Linked DNA regions of Homo sapiens: all the other regions are linked to region 2. Evidence: promoter capture Hi-C in 16 types of primary human blood cells and fetal thymus (Javierre and others, 2016). All regions are on one chromosome and are shown on one strand. The core of a region is centred on a gene start or on the middle of the fragment in contact, and the rest is flanking DNA. Distances in the headings are between cores, read along the strand shown.

Evidence for each region. The method cuts DNA at HindIII sites, captures the fragments that hold promoters and counts their contacts. A CHiCAGO score of 5 or more calls a contact.
Region 1: a fragment that was not itself captured here is called in contact with the fragment with the promoter of HTR3A in region 2 in 1 of 17 cell types (total B cells); the score reaches 5.9 in total B cells.
Region 3: a fragment that was not itself captured here is called in contact with the fragment with the promoter of HTR3A in region 2 in 1 of 17 cell types (total B cells); the score reaches 5.8 in total B cells.
Region 4: a fragment that was not itself captured here is called in contact with the fragment with the promoter of HTR3A in region 2 in 2 of 17 cell types (total B cells and naive B cells); the score reaches 9.6 in total B cells.
Region 5: a contact is called between a fragment that was not itself captured here and the fragment with the promoter of HTR3A in region 2, in 2 of 17 cell types (neutrophils and naive B cells). The highest score is 5.3, in neutrophils.

Annotation. Positions count from the first base shown.
Region 1 is chr11:114,175,878-114,178,577 of GRCh38, reverse strand. The region is part of intron 3 of ZBTB16 (zinc finger and BTB domain containing 16); the gene reads right to left. Among named protein-coding and RNA genes, the nearest start is that of ZBTB16, 120 kb to the right of the region's middle. The HindIII fragment of the contact is 5,598 bases long and covers 1-2,700 here.
Region 2 is chr11:113,973,769-113,976,468 of GRCh38, reverse strand. It overlaps HTR3A (5-hydroxytryptamine receptor 3A), which reads right to left and starts at 1,361. Exons shown (of 9, transcript NM_000869.6): 1 at 1,077-1,361. The coding sequence starts at 1,143. RefSeq lists enhancers at 477-1,136, 1,137-1,798. The HindIII fragment of the contact is 9,568 bases long and covers 1-2,700 here.
Region 3 is chr11:113,810,963-113,813,662 of GRCh38, reverse strand. It overlaps USP28 (ubiquitin specific peptidase 28), which reads left to right. Exons shown (of 26, transcript NM_001346252.4): 16 at 1,159-1,387. Among named protein-coding and RNA genes, the nearest start is that of CLDN25, 33 kb to the right of the region's middle. The HindIII fragment of the contact is 2,460 bases long and covers 179-2,638 here.
Region 4 is chr11:114,195,694-114,198,393 of GRCh38, reverse strand. All of the region lies in intron 4 of ZBTB16 (zinc finger and BTB domain containing 16), which reads right to left. Among named protein-coding and RNA genes, the nearest start is that of NNMT, 99 kb to the left of the region's middle. The HindIII fragment of the contact is 1,143 bases long and covers 811-1,953 here.
Region 5 is chr11:114,214,922-114,217,621 of GRCh38, reverse strand. The region is part of intron 4 of ZBTB16 (zinc finger and BTB domain containing 16); the gene reads right to left. Among named protein-coding and RNA genes, the nearest start is that of NNMT, 80 kb to the left of the region's middle. RefSeq lists an enhancer at 1,441-1,735. The HindIII fragment of the contact is 6,628 bases long and covers 1-2,700 here.

The sequences.
Region 1 (2,700 bases), core at 161-2,660, 200 kb before region 2:
TAATCCAACAGGCTTAGAAACACTGTCCACAGCCAGAACACACACATGCACTCAATATTAAGCTGCACAGTAAGGTAGTGAAGAGCACGCTCTCTGGAATCAAACAAACTCTGGTTCAAGTCCCAGTTCTACCATGTCTAGCTACCACCCTGAAGAAGTGAATTATCTCTTCTGGGCCTGTTTCTTACCTAGAAAACTGGGCTCAGAGTGTTTATGCCACAGGGTTGGTTGAGGGATGATTAATTTAAATAATATATGTAAAGTGTTTAATACCCTGTCTGGCATACAATAATAGCCCAATAAATGCTAGTTGTCATTAAGACCAACATCATCATTGTCATCAGGAGATAAAATAATAGCAAGGTATAAGACACACACAAACATCAAATGCATGCAAGAGATATATCACGCAATTTAAAATATTCTTACCTCTCCAGCCAAAACACACCAGTAAAGATGGGGTCAGATCATTCTTCCCCAGGAGGAGATCAAGGAAATGACACCCCTACCGTCTGCTCCCATCATCACTCATGGCCAATGTTTAATGGTATTATTACCCTCCTACTGCCTACCCAGAAGGGAACCAGGGAATGCAAACCAGTTTGAGATGATTTATGTTTTTAAAAATACATGAGTGAATTATTTTAAATAAAATGCAAGTAGGATAGTAAATTTGTTGCAGATTTTTTAAAAATACAGGCCAGGTGCAATAGCTTGTGCCTGTAACCCCAGCCTGGGTGACGGAGTGATACTCTGTCTCCAAAAAAAATTACAAATATTCCTGAAGTCTAAGAGTAGTGACTCAGGGGTTCACCTTACCATTGCTTCTAATCTCTTTCTTCTCCTGGCAACTTCTATGACTGAGCAATCATGGTATTGTGGTAGTCAGCACAAGGGCACAAAATCTCTCTTACTACAGGAATGTCAGTCCCTGCTGTGATGAACCAGACTTCCTTCCAGACATGCTTTGCCAACTGAGAGATCTCTCGGAGGTTAACGGTCAGGCCCCCTCAAAATGAAGTCCCGGGCCGGGTGCGGTGGCTCATGCCTGTAATTACCCAGCACTTTGGCAGGCCGAGGCGGGCGGATCACCTGAGGTCTGGAGTTGGAGACCAGCCTGACCAACATGAAGAAGCCCCATCTCTACTAAAAATACAAAATTAGCCGGGCATGGTGGCACATGCCTGTAATCCCAGCTACTCGGGAGCCTGGGGCAGGAGAATCGCTAGAACCCCGGAGGCAGAGGTTGTGGTGAGCCGAGATCGCACCACTGCACTCCAGCCTGGCAACAGCAACAGCTCAAATCCAGAGACGGCTTTAAGGTTCTACCGGTACGGTACCAGCATCAACTTCGCAGCCTCACTTCCCTCCTGAAAATGTAGCTATTCATCCTCATATGATAGCTTAAACAAGAAACTATATGAAGTACCTGGCACATAGCAGGTGCTCAAGTCACAGTCATTATCATGATTATAGAATAATTTCACTTCATCAAGCTGATGAGCTCCAGGAGGACAGCTCCTGGCCACAGCCTACAGGGTATGCAGCCCATAGTATTTCCAGTCCCACAGCTCTGGGAGAAGCCCAATCGCAATAAGTAAATGGCCTGCATAAATGAGACACTATGTTCTCTAAGGCTCTCGTATACATGATATTATGCTATCTGGAATGGGAGACAGGACCACCCTTAGGTAAGACAGGGTAGATAACTGGCTCAAGGAGGGTTCTGCTGGCCAGCGCACCCAAGATTTTCCAAAGTACCAAAAGAAACTGACTTGCGGTCCTGACTGTCACTGCCTGAGCTGTGTAACCCTTGGTGAATCCCTTTATCTCTCCATCTTGAAATGACAAGTTTTAAACTGGGACATCTCTAAGGGAGAAAGGATGAACAGGTGTTCATGAGAAGCTGGGCGCTCATGGCAAAGAAAGTTAAACGTGGCCGTACACGAGAGCTCAAATGCATACAACCCTTGGTGTTTGGAAGGTGCTGTTGAGACCAAGCGAGGGCTGGGTTCCCCGGTTCAGCCAGCAGAATCCTTCTCAAGGTGAATATTCTGCTCTATCAGGCAGGTAGAATGGAACAGAGAGTCCAGACATTGGGAGAATCATTAGCCAGAGTCAGGCTGGGTCAGTGCGGCTGTGCCAAAGACTGACCCGAGTTCCAGGGAATACCTGGGCTTTCAAGTGTTCATAACTTTGTTTTGTTTAAGAGAGATAGATAGCTTTGCAACCTTGGCATTTGTGAGAGGCTGGATAATAAAGCCAGGGATATAAGAGTAAGGGTTTCTGCCATGATTTTATGGGACATCTCCGCAACTCCTAAACACCAACAATCACCCTCCTCCCAGGTCTCCCCTTGGGGATTCTCAGGAGAGAAGTTCAGAATGAAAAGAGAAGTTTCTGTTGGCCCCCAGCAGTCCCAAAGCTCAGCCTGTGATCTGAGCCTTCGGTCTCCTCTCATCCTCATCTATTCTGCTCCTTTCTTCTGAAGCAACTTCAGAATGCTCCGTCACAGGCCCCCACCCTAAATATGGCATGGAGGATTTCACACATACACACACACACACACACGCACGCACACACACACACACACACACACCCCTCTCCCCTGAGTAGGATTCACAATACTGGCTGGGCAATGGAAAAAAGAAGACTAAGACCCCTCCAAGGGTGGTGGCCGGGATCCAAGTGCCTACTCCA
Region 2 (2,700 bases), core at 112-2,611:
AAGCACCAGAAAGGTGAGCACCTTGCTCTGCAAGTGGAGGAACTGAGATTCAAACGCAGACCCGTGTGCGTCTTTACTACACCAGCAAGAGCCTGGGTCCTATTGACTGGGATCCTGACCAGCTTGGAGAGCACTGAACTCATCCCAGCAGGCCCGGGGCAAAGGACCATTGCTAGGAGGGACAGAGTTTCTTCTCAGTCAAGGAAGCCCTCGACCACAGTCATCACTTACAGCTTGCGTTTGCTTAACCCACGGAGCACTCCCAAACGACCGCTCCCGGGAGGAAGGACATCTTACCCAGAGCTCTTCACGTCTGTCCAACCCCTGGATGGCTTCCTCTAATTGTGCCCCAGTATGCTCCACCCCAGCTCTGTAGGGAGAGAAACCTCCTAGAGGGGAATGAACATGGTCTGCAGCAAAAGGAAGCCGGTCCCTTTGTGGCTAAAACACCCTACATTCAAGGGAGTCAGGAGAAGATGGGTGTAGCGAATGTGGAGAGAAATTGGGCGTTACTGGAGTTTAGTCCTGGAAAGGAACTTGGGGAACCGCAGGCCCAGAGAACGAACTCATGCAACAAAACCAGTGAAGCTGAGGAAAGAGGACTAGACTAGTTCTGGTCCCCACTCTGCTGCTAACAAGCTGTGTGACCTTGAATGAATTATCCGCTCCCCACTCTCTGGGCCACAGCATTCCCATTTATAACAGGCAAGGGTGGACCCAATGAGTTCTAAGGTCCCTTGCAGCTTTCATTCAAATAGTTTAGGGAAAGGACAAAAAGGAGAGGAGCCCCCTCCTGGTGCCTGTCTTTTTATTTCTGATACGCCAGGCTACTTCTCTGCTCCCTTCTTTGCAAGCTCCGCTCTTGCCCCACCCCAGGACTCAACATTCCTAACTCTCTCTAGCTTAACCATGATGCCTCAAATGCTGTCATGCTCATAGGTGGTAAGATAGCTGACCTTCCTGCAGCTGCACTGTTCCCCACCCTCCTCTCCACAGCCCTCGGAGGACTGAAGCATCCCCTGCCCCACCTCAGCAGATGGTCAGCCAAGTCCTGCTGCTTCCCGAAGTCTGCTTACCTTCTCCCTGTGCCAGGAGTGTGGGGAGGAGCAAGGCGAGCAGCGCCTGCTGGACCCACAGCAGCATAGCGAGCTTTCCAAGCATAGGAGTGCCTCCGAGTGCTCAGGACGAGGCCCACCAAGGGCCAGCTTGCCTGCCCTCTGCCAACCTCATGTCCCAGCCAGCCTGCCTCTCGTGGCCACTGCTCACACCTTCTGAGGCTGCAGCCTCACACTCCCTGGGCCACCAAGGTTGGGGAGCTGCCAAGTTTTCCTGCAATCAGTCCTTCAGCTGGATCATGTTTCAGGCGGGAGGAAAGGGGAGGGGACAGCTGAGAGGGGAGCCCGCCCTAGCTGATGTCATGCTGTGGGAGCTCAGTCCACCCATTCAGCCAGGGGGCTTGGCCATGTTTCCCCAAGGAGTAACTTAGGTGGGGACAGGGGCTGCAGAAGCCCATGAGACAAGGGTGCAGCCTGACCCCTGGGAGGTGCACCACGCTGCTGCTTTCATTGATGTCCCTTGGCAAGTATGTTTCTGTGGCACTGGGCTGGGGCAGGATAGGGTGAGTCAGGCAGGAGCAGGAAGACCATTCTTTTACTCCCCAGGGTGACATAACCAAGCAGGTGACTGGGCACCTCTGTAGTTACGGGAAGGGTAACTGGAGTCACCACAGGTCTGCCCTTTTGTCCTCATCTAATTAGTTATACTTAAATAGTAAAATATATATTAAAAATAATAAAATATATAATAAAAATAAACTTTTACTATACATATTTATTTCATGCATTCTTGCCATACATAATAAATACATATAGTAAAAATAATAATAATACATGCACTTTGTAGAAAAATATGAAGAAAAATTAAAATCATCTGTAAACTTATGACTCAGAGACAGCCACTCTTAACGTTTTGGTATATATTCTTCCATAATTTTCTTCAGTAATGTGTATACAATGAAGTAAATATCACATACATATAATTTTGTGCCCTCTTTTTTTGCTTGATATCATTTCGTAAGCATTTCTTTTCTTTTCTTTCTTTCTTTTTTTTTTTTTTTTTGAGACAGAGTCTCGCTCTGTCACCCAGGCTAGAGTGCAGTGGCGCAATCACTGCTCACTGCAGCCCCAACCTCCCCCATCTCAGCTGATCCTCCCATCTCAGCCTCTTGAAGAGCTGGGACTACAAATGCGAGCCATGCCTGGCTAATTTTTGTATTTTTGGTAGTCCCCCAAAGGGACTAGAGGCATGAGCAATCACACCTGGCCTCGGAAGCATTTTCAATACCTTCCTCTTAAATGGAAGCGTCTTTCTTGAAAGAAGTGTTTCTTTCTTCATTGCAAGTTAAATAGACAAGTATCTATCCCTCAGGCCTCAGCTGTGTACCCCTAAAGTTGCCTGCAAGAAGAATTACTGTGCATTTTTATTTGAAGGAGTCCTACCCTAGCTCACCATTTGGGTAGATGTCCCCGTACCAATCAAGTTAAGTATCAACAACAAAACATTTTCTTCCTTTTTAATTTATTTTCCACTTGACTCTAAGTGTGGAATAGGCTAGGAACCCTGCAGTAAGGAGGAATTTTCTGAATTGTAGGTAAGTTAAAAAGAAAGAAAAAAAGAAAGAAACTACCTTGGTCAGGGCTG
Region 3 (2,700 bases), core at 159-2,658, 160 kb after region 2:
CACATGGAATTTTTTCATATTGTAGAAAGGTTTGCTGTCAGATACTAATAAAAATTACTTACAAAATGGTACTTTAAGTAGTGCAGTGGGAAAAACTGAACTAGAGAACAGTTATCCTTTCTTTCCCAAAGTTCCATGATTCTTCAAGATCTTTAATTTAACAACATGCGTTCAAGCTTTATTTCTGTAATAATAAATTCCAAAAGAGAGTTAGGACAGAAATTCTTAACTATCCACAGAAGTGTTTGTTAGAATAAATTCTGGGAATGGAGGGGTAAAGAGCCTCCAGGAGTGTCTCTGAACCTATTCTGGTTAGGGGCATGGACTTTCAGTGGCTTCTGTATGAATGACTGGAATGGGCAGAATGGCTTGGAGGAGGGGAGCCCTGTTTCTAGAATGGCATTGAGGCACAGTCCCATTGCTTAACAGGAATGCACCATGTAAAACGCAGGCTTCCCCATTTTTTCTTTTGTGTTAATTCAAAAATCTTCACCAGTAATTAAAATAGGTCAAAGTAAGTGTAAATTTAATTTGATTCTGTGACTGACTTTCATCTCTTTTACTAGTATTTAGTTAGCATTTAAGCATTGCTCTATTTTCTCTATATTGAAAATACACAAATGTGCTTTTCAAATGTTGTAACAAACAAGTATGTCATTAAAAGGGTCTTCACTCCAGATAGATAAGTGGTCACTTAACTCTAAGAAGCATGTGGCTGAATTAAATATGTTAACTTAAATTTTGTTGCCAAATAAAATAGGCATGGAACAAAATAGCTGCTAACCTTTGTAGGTCCCAAATATGCTAAGCATTTTCAGCATGAGTGGTCAAGGTGATTCTATTTTTAGATAAACAGAGTTTTGAATTAGAAGGATGCATATGTTTAGGTTATGTTTGGTTTTAGATCTGAGGAGTTTAGAGTTGAAAGAGTCTTCAGAGAGGTCATGTAGTTCAGCGATCTGGTTTTCAAGGTTTTGGAACTGAGACATAATTGATCAATTCCAAGGCTGTGTTTTTGTGGACTTCATCTTGAATCAACAAGATGTTTTAATATGAACCCCACATTAATCACATCATAAACAGTAATTTCTTAATAACCTAAACTTTATCAGATTACTTTGCTTCACCTGACTGGGGAATGTACATTCTGACTTACAGGTGCCTTATCGCTTGCATGCAGTTCTTGTTCATGAAGGACAAGCAAATGCTGGACACTATTGGGCCTATATCTATAATCAACCCCGACAGAGCTGGCTCAAGTACAATGACATCTCTGTTACTGAATCTTCCTGGGAAGAAGTTGAAAGAGATTCCTATGGAGGCCTGAGAAATGTTAGTGCTTACTGTCTGATGTACATTAATGACAAACTACCCTACTTCAATGCAGGTAAAAGTATCTTGGCAGAATCTATAGATTGGGGAAAATCTGTACTGCTCAGGGAGAAGAACAGTCTTGTACTGCTTTTTAAAAAATTTACAACTTACTATTATATAATAATAGATTTAAAAAATATAGACAGTATAAAAGGAAATGAAAAGGAAAAACAAGTTTGCTTTACTACTTTCTTCCTTGACCATGGGTCCCACTCCCAACAAGTACACAATGTTAGGTTTCTTATGTAGTCTTCAAGACACATTGTATACATATGCTAGATTCTATTTATCTGTATCTTCCCCTCCCCCTTTTCCCCAAGTAGATTATTTTTCCATTCAACTCTGAACCTTTTTCATTAATCGAGTATTTAGCAATCTCTATATTTTTAGTAAAAGAATCTTAACTGTTTAACAACTATATAGTAATTCATTGTGTGGAATATACGTATTTTTAAAATTTACTCGTAGATAGACTAATTCTCTAGTTGTTGTTGTTTTTAGTGACATCTTTTTTTTTTCTTGCCCCATCTTATGGTGCTGATAGTACATATATTTTTGCACCCTTTGGAGAATAACTAAATTTTTTCTTTCTTTTTTTTTTGAGACATAGTCTTGCTTTGTCGCCCAGGCTGGAGTGCAGTGGCGCAATCTCAGCTCACTGCAACCTCCGCCTGCCAGGTTGAAGTGATTCTCCTGCCTCACTCTCGCAAGCAGCTGGAATTACAGGTGCCCACCACCATGCCCAGCTGATTTTTGTATTTTTAGTAGAAACGGTGTTTCACCATCTTGGCCAGGGTGTTTTTGAACTCCTCACCTCAGGTGATCTGCCTGCTTCGGCCTCTCAAAGTGCTGGGATTACAGTTGTGGGGCCCAGAATAACTAAATTTTACAGGTGTATTTGCCTGAATAGTTTCACAGTTGTTGTAATACTACTACTCATACAGAGAGCAATAATAATTATCATTTATATTGGTACTTTACTTCTTAAAGCATGCTTTCAAACTTTTATTTCTCTAAGAACTTACAGCTGTGAAAAGGAGGGAAAGAGTTTGAAAATGTTGTCATCTTCATTTTCCAGCTGGATAACAGATTCCAAAGGGTTCTAAAGTTGAGTAATCACATAGTCAATAAATGGCAGTCCCAAGATTCAAATACAATTCTCCAAATTCTGTGGTGTTTTCAATTTACATTATTCTCTCTTTCTTTCACATCCTCTATGAGAGGTCTTATGATGAACATTTTATAAGTAAGATAGTAGAAAGCTTTTGCCTGTAGTATTCAAACTTTACTGTGTGGCGTAAGTAAGGAAACATCGCCCCGGCATGG
Region 4 (2,700 bases), core at 133-2,632, 220 kb before region 2:
AAACTCTATATTAGGCATCAAACATGCCTTTATAGTAACAGCATGAAATTAGGTCAAGAGTAAATCTATGCTGGGGCACTGACTGTACAAACAGCAGCACATGACCCTCCTCCCAAAGTGCCTATGACGTTCCGCGGCCGTTCTTCAGCCTGAGCTTTCTCATGTTAAATTCCTTGGCACAGAATGTGAAATGCTATACAAATCACCTCTGATATTTATAAAAGTCAAATGCTATTATGTTTTCAATGGGGAGGTCACAGCAAACCACATGGAGTCTGCCTGTCCCTCTGATGACTCACTGTCCTGTCCTCCCCGATACCCTCCACCTTGGACAGAGGTTTGAGGTTCGTTTGGATTTTTTTTTTTTTTCATGTAAAGTTTAGGTAGATTAAGTTATTTGTCATCATCTGGCCCCCTCCCAGCTCCTCTGGGACCAGCCACTGGGAGGCTGTTCTTGAGAGCAGGAACTAGAACAGTTGCCAGTTTTCCTATCATTACAGGACTCCTTGGTGCCCAGCACTGTCCCTCGTGCCAAGCTCAGGGCAGGAGGGGGCAAGGCCAGCAGCTATCCTGAGGGAAGGAGCGTTGCTGCTCACCCTTTTAAATCCTCTGCCTTCTGCACTCCAGCCTGGGCGACAGAGCGAGACTCTGTCTCAAAAATAATAATTAAAATAAAATAAATCCTCTGTCTTGCCTGCTACTCCCACCCCACCCCCTGCCCCCACCATGATCACCCACTACAGAAAATTCTCCAAACAAGGACTTCATTTTCTACTCTGAAGTTCAGAGCCAGGGACTGTCTCTGAAGCTTCCTCCAAATATTATTAACATATCAGGAGAGAGGGGCCAGTGCAAGCAGGCAGCCAACACCAAGGTTGGAGAGACAGTTCTGCACCTCCAAAGGGGGAGGCCACACAGTGCAAAGAGAGAGAGAGAGACAAAGAGAGAGAAACAGAGAGTGGGGGGAAGACAGAGTATATGCCTCCTAGACTCCTTCACACTGAAACGAAGAGGACCCTTTGGGTGGGGTTCCCTCCAATGCCCACTCCCTGCTAGAAGGGAAGGGCAGAGTCCACAGCATGGACCCTCAGCCGCCAGAGGTATGCCGTTTCTGGACTGCAAGACTCTTGCAGCCGACAACACAGTGGATGAGAACCAGCATCTCAACATTTGCATCTGGTTGAGTGGCTTCCCCTGTGACGCAGTAATGTGGAAACTAAGCAACCTTTTCTAGGCCAGTAAAAGAAAGTACTTATTTTGTAGTCACAGTGGAGAGAACCTTGGGCTGAACTCGTGGGCCCTAATTCTAGTTTGGATTGTGTGTTCTTAACTGACCCCCTTTTTCAAATAGGGGCTTTGATCCATTGATCCGCACATGAGAGCTGATGCCCAGGCCCCCACAGGGAGGGAAGACAATGCTAAAATGTGGGCTCTGGGGTACAGAAGCCCAAGGCACACATTCAAGTCCTGCCCCAGATTGGTCTTCCTTAACCTTTCTGGGACTCAGTTTTCTCTGGCAAAGATTAGGGAGGAAAAAAGGTCTATATTTTTGGACTATAGTGAAGACTTAATAAAAATAATAACTCAAAAGTATCCAAAAGAGTACAGCTATTGAATTATCTGTACCTAAGGCAAGTTCAACCTACATGCTCATTTCCTTCATAACACCGTAACCTTCAGGAAGGCAGGGCCCAATTTCTGTTCACTATTATGTATTAAGTCCACAAAGCACCTAGCATACAGTAGGTACTTAAAAACTCAGAGAATGAGGAAATGAAGGAACTACAGGATAAGCCAGCTACACAGGCTACTCTCACAGCAAACTTGAGTCACTAACCTGGCAGACCTTGCAGGGCAGGTTGAGGGCTGGAGGAGAGAGCTGAATTCCTCCAGGGTAAGTCTAGGGTCTAGTTCAACCTAGTACCCTGGGCCTGCAGAGGGTGCCCTTAAGCTTCCCAGCCTCAGAACTTCTAAACCTAGGAATGACCTTGCCTCTTTTTTCTTACTGGCGAAAAGGTAGGATGAGGTGGAAGGTTCTATTTGAAGAAGTCAAGAGATAGGGAATACCCAGGTTCCTGGTGATAGCAGACATGGTTCAGGACCCTACCAGGAACCCAAAATTCCTGAGCCTTTGAGGGCACCAGTCACTGAAGCCTCCTCTTAAGACGTGGAAGGGCACAGGCCTGGTGCTCCTGGAGGCTGGTACACCTGCTTAGTCTCGATTCCAGTTTTGCGGCCTGTCTGGCCTGGGTTTACACATCACCTGTTTAGACACCAACAGGGAATGGTTCCTTTGGGAAGCTTTGGGCATTCCAGACCTCAGGGCCTTAAGATCTACCAAATCTGCTCCCTGAGATTGCTCAAAGTGTGGAGCTTCAATCTGCCCTCACTTCTTTCAACTGCACTGAGAGGGCCCCAGTGGCTGTTAACTCAGTGGGCACATTGCAAATGTCCTCTTGGCCGGAGGACATAGTCAGGGATCCTGGAAGACCTCACCATGGCCTTGCAAAGCAGGTGTATACTGTTCCTATTCCTCCAACACCATCCTCACTGACTTGGCCCCGTCAACCTATCCAGTGGGGGAAATCCATGTTCTCAGAAGCCTCTGAGGAAGACCAGGATGATGCGATGAGAGAAACTGGCACCTCCATTTCCTGAGCACTTACTCCATGCGAGGCCTATATTGAGATTATCCAATCT
Region 5 (2,700 bases), core at 31-2,530, 240 kb before region 2:
GCTGCTCCCTAGATGTTCCGCAGACATCTTATATTCAACCTGAATATCCAAACCTGAAACCCACATCTTCGCCTCTCAAACCTGCTTGGCCTGGATCTCCATCTCAGCTGTCAGCACTAACATCCTCTTGGTCACTCGAGCTAGATGCCTGGACGTCACCCCGAAGGCCTCTAGGTCCTCTTGCCTGACATTAGGATTGAGATACCCCAATCCAGCTCATTTTCTATCATGTAAGCATCCCTCATCAGGATAGCCACAAAAGTCTCCTAAACACAGCTTACCTCCCTCTGATCTCACCTGCACAGAACCACCAGTGCGACCTATCCAAAATGTATCTGATCTCATAACTTCCTTTTTAAAGGCTTCCAAGAACTCCTTGTCATCTGTGGATAAAATCTAGGCTCCTAAACACAGCCTAACAAGTTTCTGTGGCCTGGGCTTGCCTATGCCTCCAACTGTATCCACCACGTTCTATCTCAGCTGAGCTACTCAGGCCACAGTGTCACTGTTTCTAAACACATACAGTTCCATTTCTTCTGTCCTTCTCTCCCTTCATCCTGGCTACTTTCTACTTCTTGAAAACCTTGTGGTGTCTTCCTTTCTAGAAGCCTTATCTGTCCCCTGGGTATCTGCTGAGCACCCTTCCTCTGGGCTACCACAGTATCCTGTGTATAATAAATATCTCTATCGCTGCACTCAGCATTCTGCATTATAATTGCCTGTTTATGTGTCTGTCTTCCTCTCAACTCTGAATTCCTTGAATCAAGAGACTGGGTCTAGTCATCTTTCTATTCCCAGCATTTAAGCACATAGTAGATATGCAATAAATGTTGAATGAATGAGTGGCAAGCCGTCTTGGTTCTTCTGAAAATGATAGGGAATAGGGGATCTTTTAGTGTCATGCCAACTCAGTGAGAATAGGGGGTAAGGGGAGGTGACTTCTTATTTCCCTCCATCTCCAGTCTCCTGTAAGTCAAGAGAAATGTGTATATGCTGCAGGCTGCCTCCGGTGTGATGAGTTTAGGCTGATAGCACTGTCTTGCCAGAATGTTCCTCTGGGCCCCAAAGCAGCTGGGTGTACATTCCCCCACAAAAGGTTACCAGTGTCCAAAGGCTGGGCTTGTGCAGCAGCCCCTCCCCCTGTCCTTGTCACCCAGCCTCCTTCTGACCAAAGATAAGGGCTGGGTCAGAGCCCTGTTGACTGGAACAGCAATTTATCAGCCTAGTAAGGGTGGGACAAGGCAGAAGATGGCCCACCAGCCAGTCTGAGCACAAGGCCAGCAGAGGTAAGACTCAGATCATGAAGGACAAATGTGCCAGTCCACCCCCCAGCTCTGCTAGGAAGTAATCAGCACCCAGAACAGGGACACTTCTGCATTTGTCCCCACCCATCCAATAGACCAAAGCTGCAGCCTTTACAGGTGCCTGTGTGTGCAAGGGAAAGGGTGCACTGGGAAGAGAGGATAGGAGAGCTCGTATATGTCCTCTTCACAGCTCAACAGCCCCATGGAAAGGTTCGCTCAGAGCTGTAGGGCCTGTTCTCACTCAAGATAAGCGGGAGAGGTGGTAACAAATGGAAACCACAGCCTTATCTTGGCCTTCCTTCATCAACGCTCCCACACCCCTACCCTGTCTGCTCTGTTCAAGAGCTTCCCTCCTCCAAAAGCCCTTCCATTTCTAGGCTGTCTCCCTGAGTGCTGTACTGGCCTGTGAGTCCAGGCTCCTGCCCCTGACTATTGCAGATGGGAACAGCCAACCTTTCTCAAATAGCCATCAGAGAATGCCTGAATTTTGTACCCAACATCTACCTGTAAGATCTGTAATCACAAAATAATTCAAATTAAACTTTCAAAACATAAAAAAAGACAAAAGCTATAAAAAGATAAGGGCATCTATATATGTGCCCACTCACAACTGAAGCAGCTCCAGAGATGGACAGTTATCAGTCTCTCTTAGGAACATCTTTGCAACTCAGGAAGTTCTCACCAATGTCTAACCTAATGCGGCTGCTGCGGCTGTAAAGCTCTTTACCTCTCGTTGTAGGGTAAAGACAAAAGGAGTCTTTCTCTTAATTTCTCTTTTCTTGCTAGCACACCAGGCAACTTCTAGGTAGAAGCAATATGCTGCACCAGAGAGACATCTGAATGAGCTGCCATATCTTTCCCTTCCCCTTTTTGGAAAGAGCCAATGAGATGTGAGGTCTTGGTCATCCTGGACTGGCAGGGAAGGTAACCCATCTCAATCCTCCAGAATGAAGAACCCGAGCCTGATCCTCAATGAGAAGAGGGAGCAGAGAAGGGAACAAGTGAATCCCTGGGCCACTCAAGAGAAGCAAGAAGGCCAACTTCTAAAACAAGTTATTTTACGGCAGGCAGCCAGTGTAGGTCCAGACTGAGTTATGTGTCCTTTGTGTTGAACAACTACTAGTTATCAGGTAAGTCATAAAGGAACATTCGTAAAATTAGATTCACCACTTGTTTTTATAGCACTCATTAAGGGACATAAAAGACAATTCTTTTCAGCGTTTTGGTGCTGAATTATAAATTCAATTAACTGGACACAGTTAACCTCATAGATCCAGAAATCTTTATATTAAAGAAGCAACTTCCACCTATAAGCAGGAAAAAAAAAAAAAAGATAAGCTCCTCTCTCTGGCTTCCAAATCCCTCCACCCCAATTGAGCAGACTTTCTGCCATCAT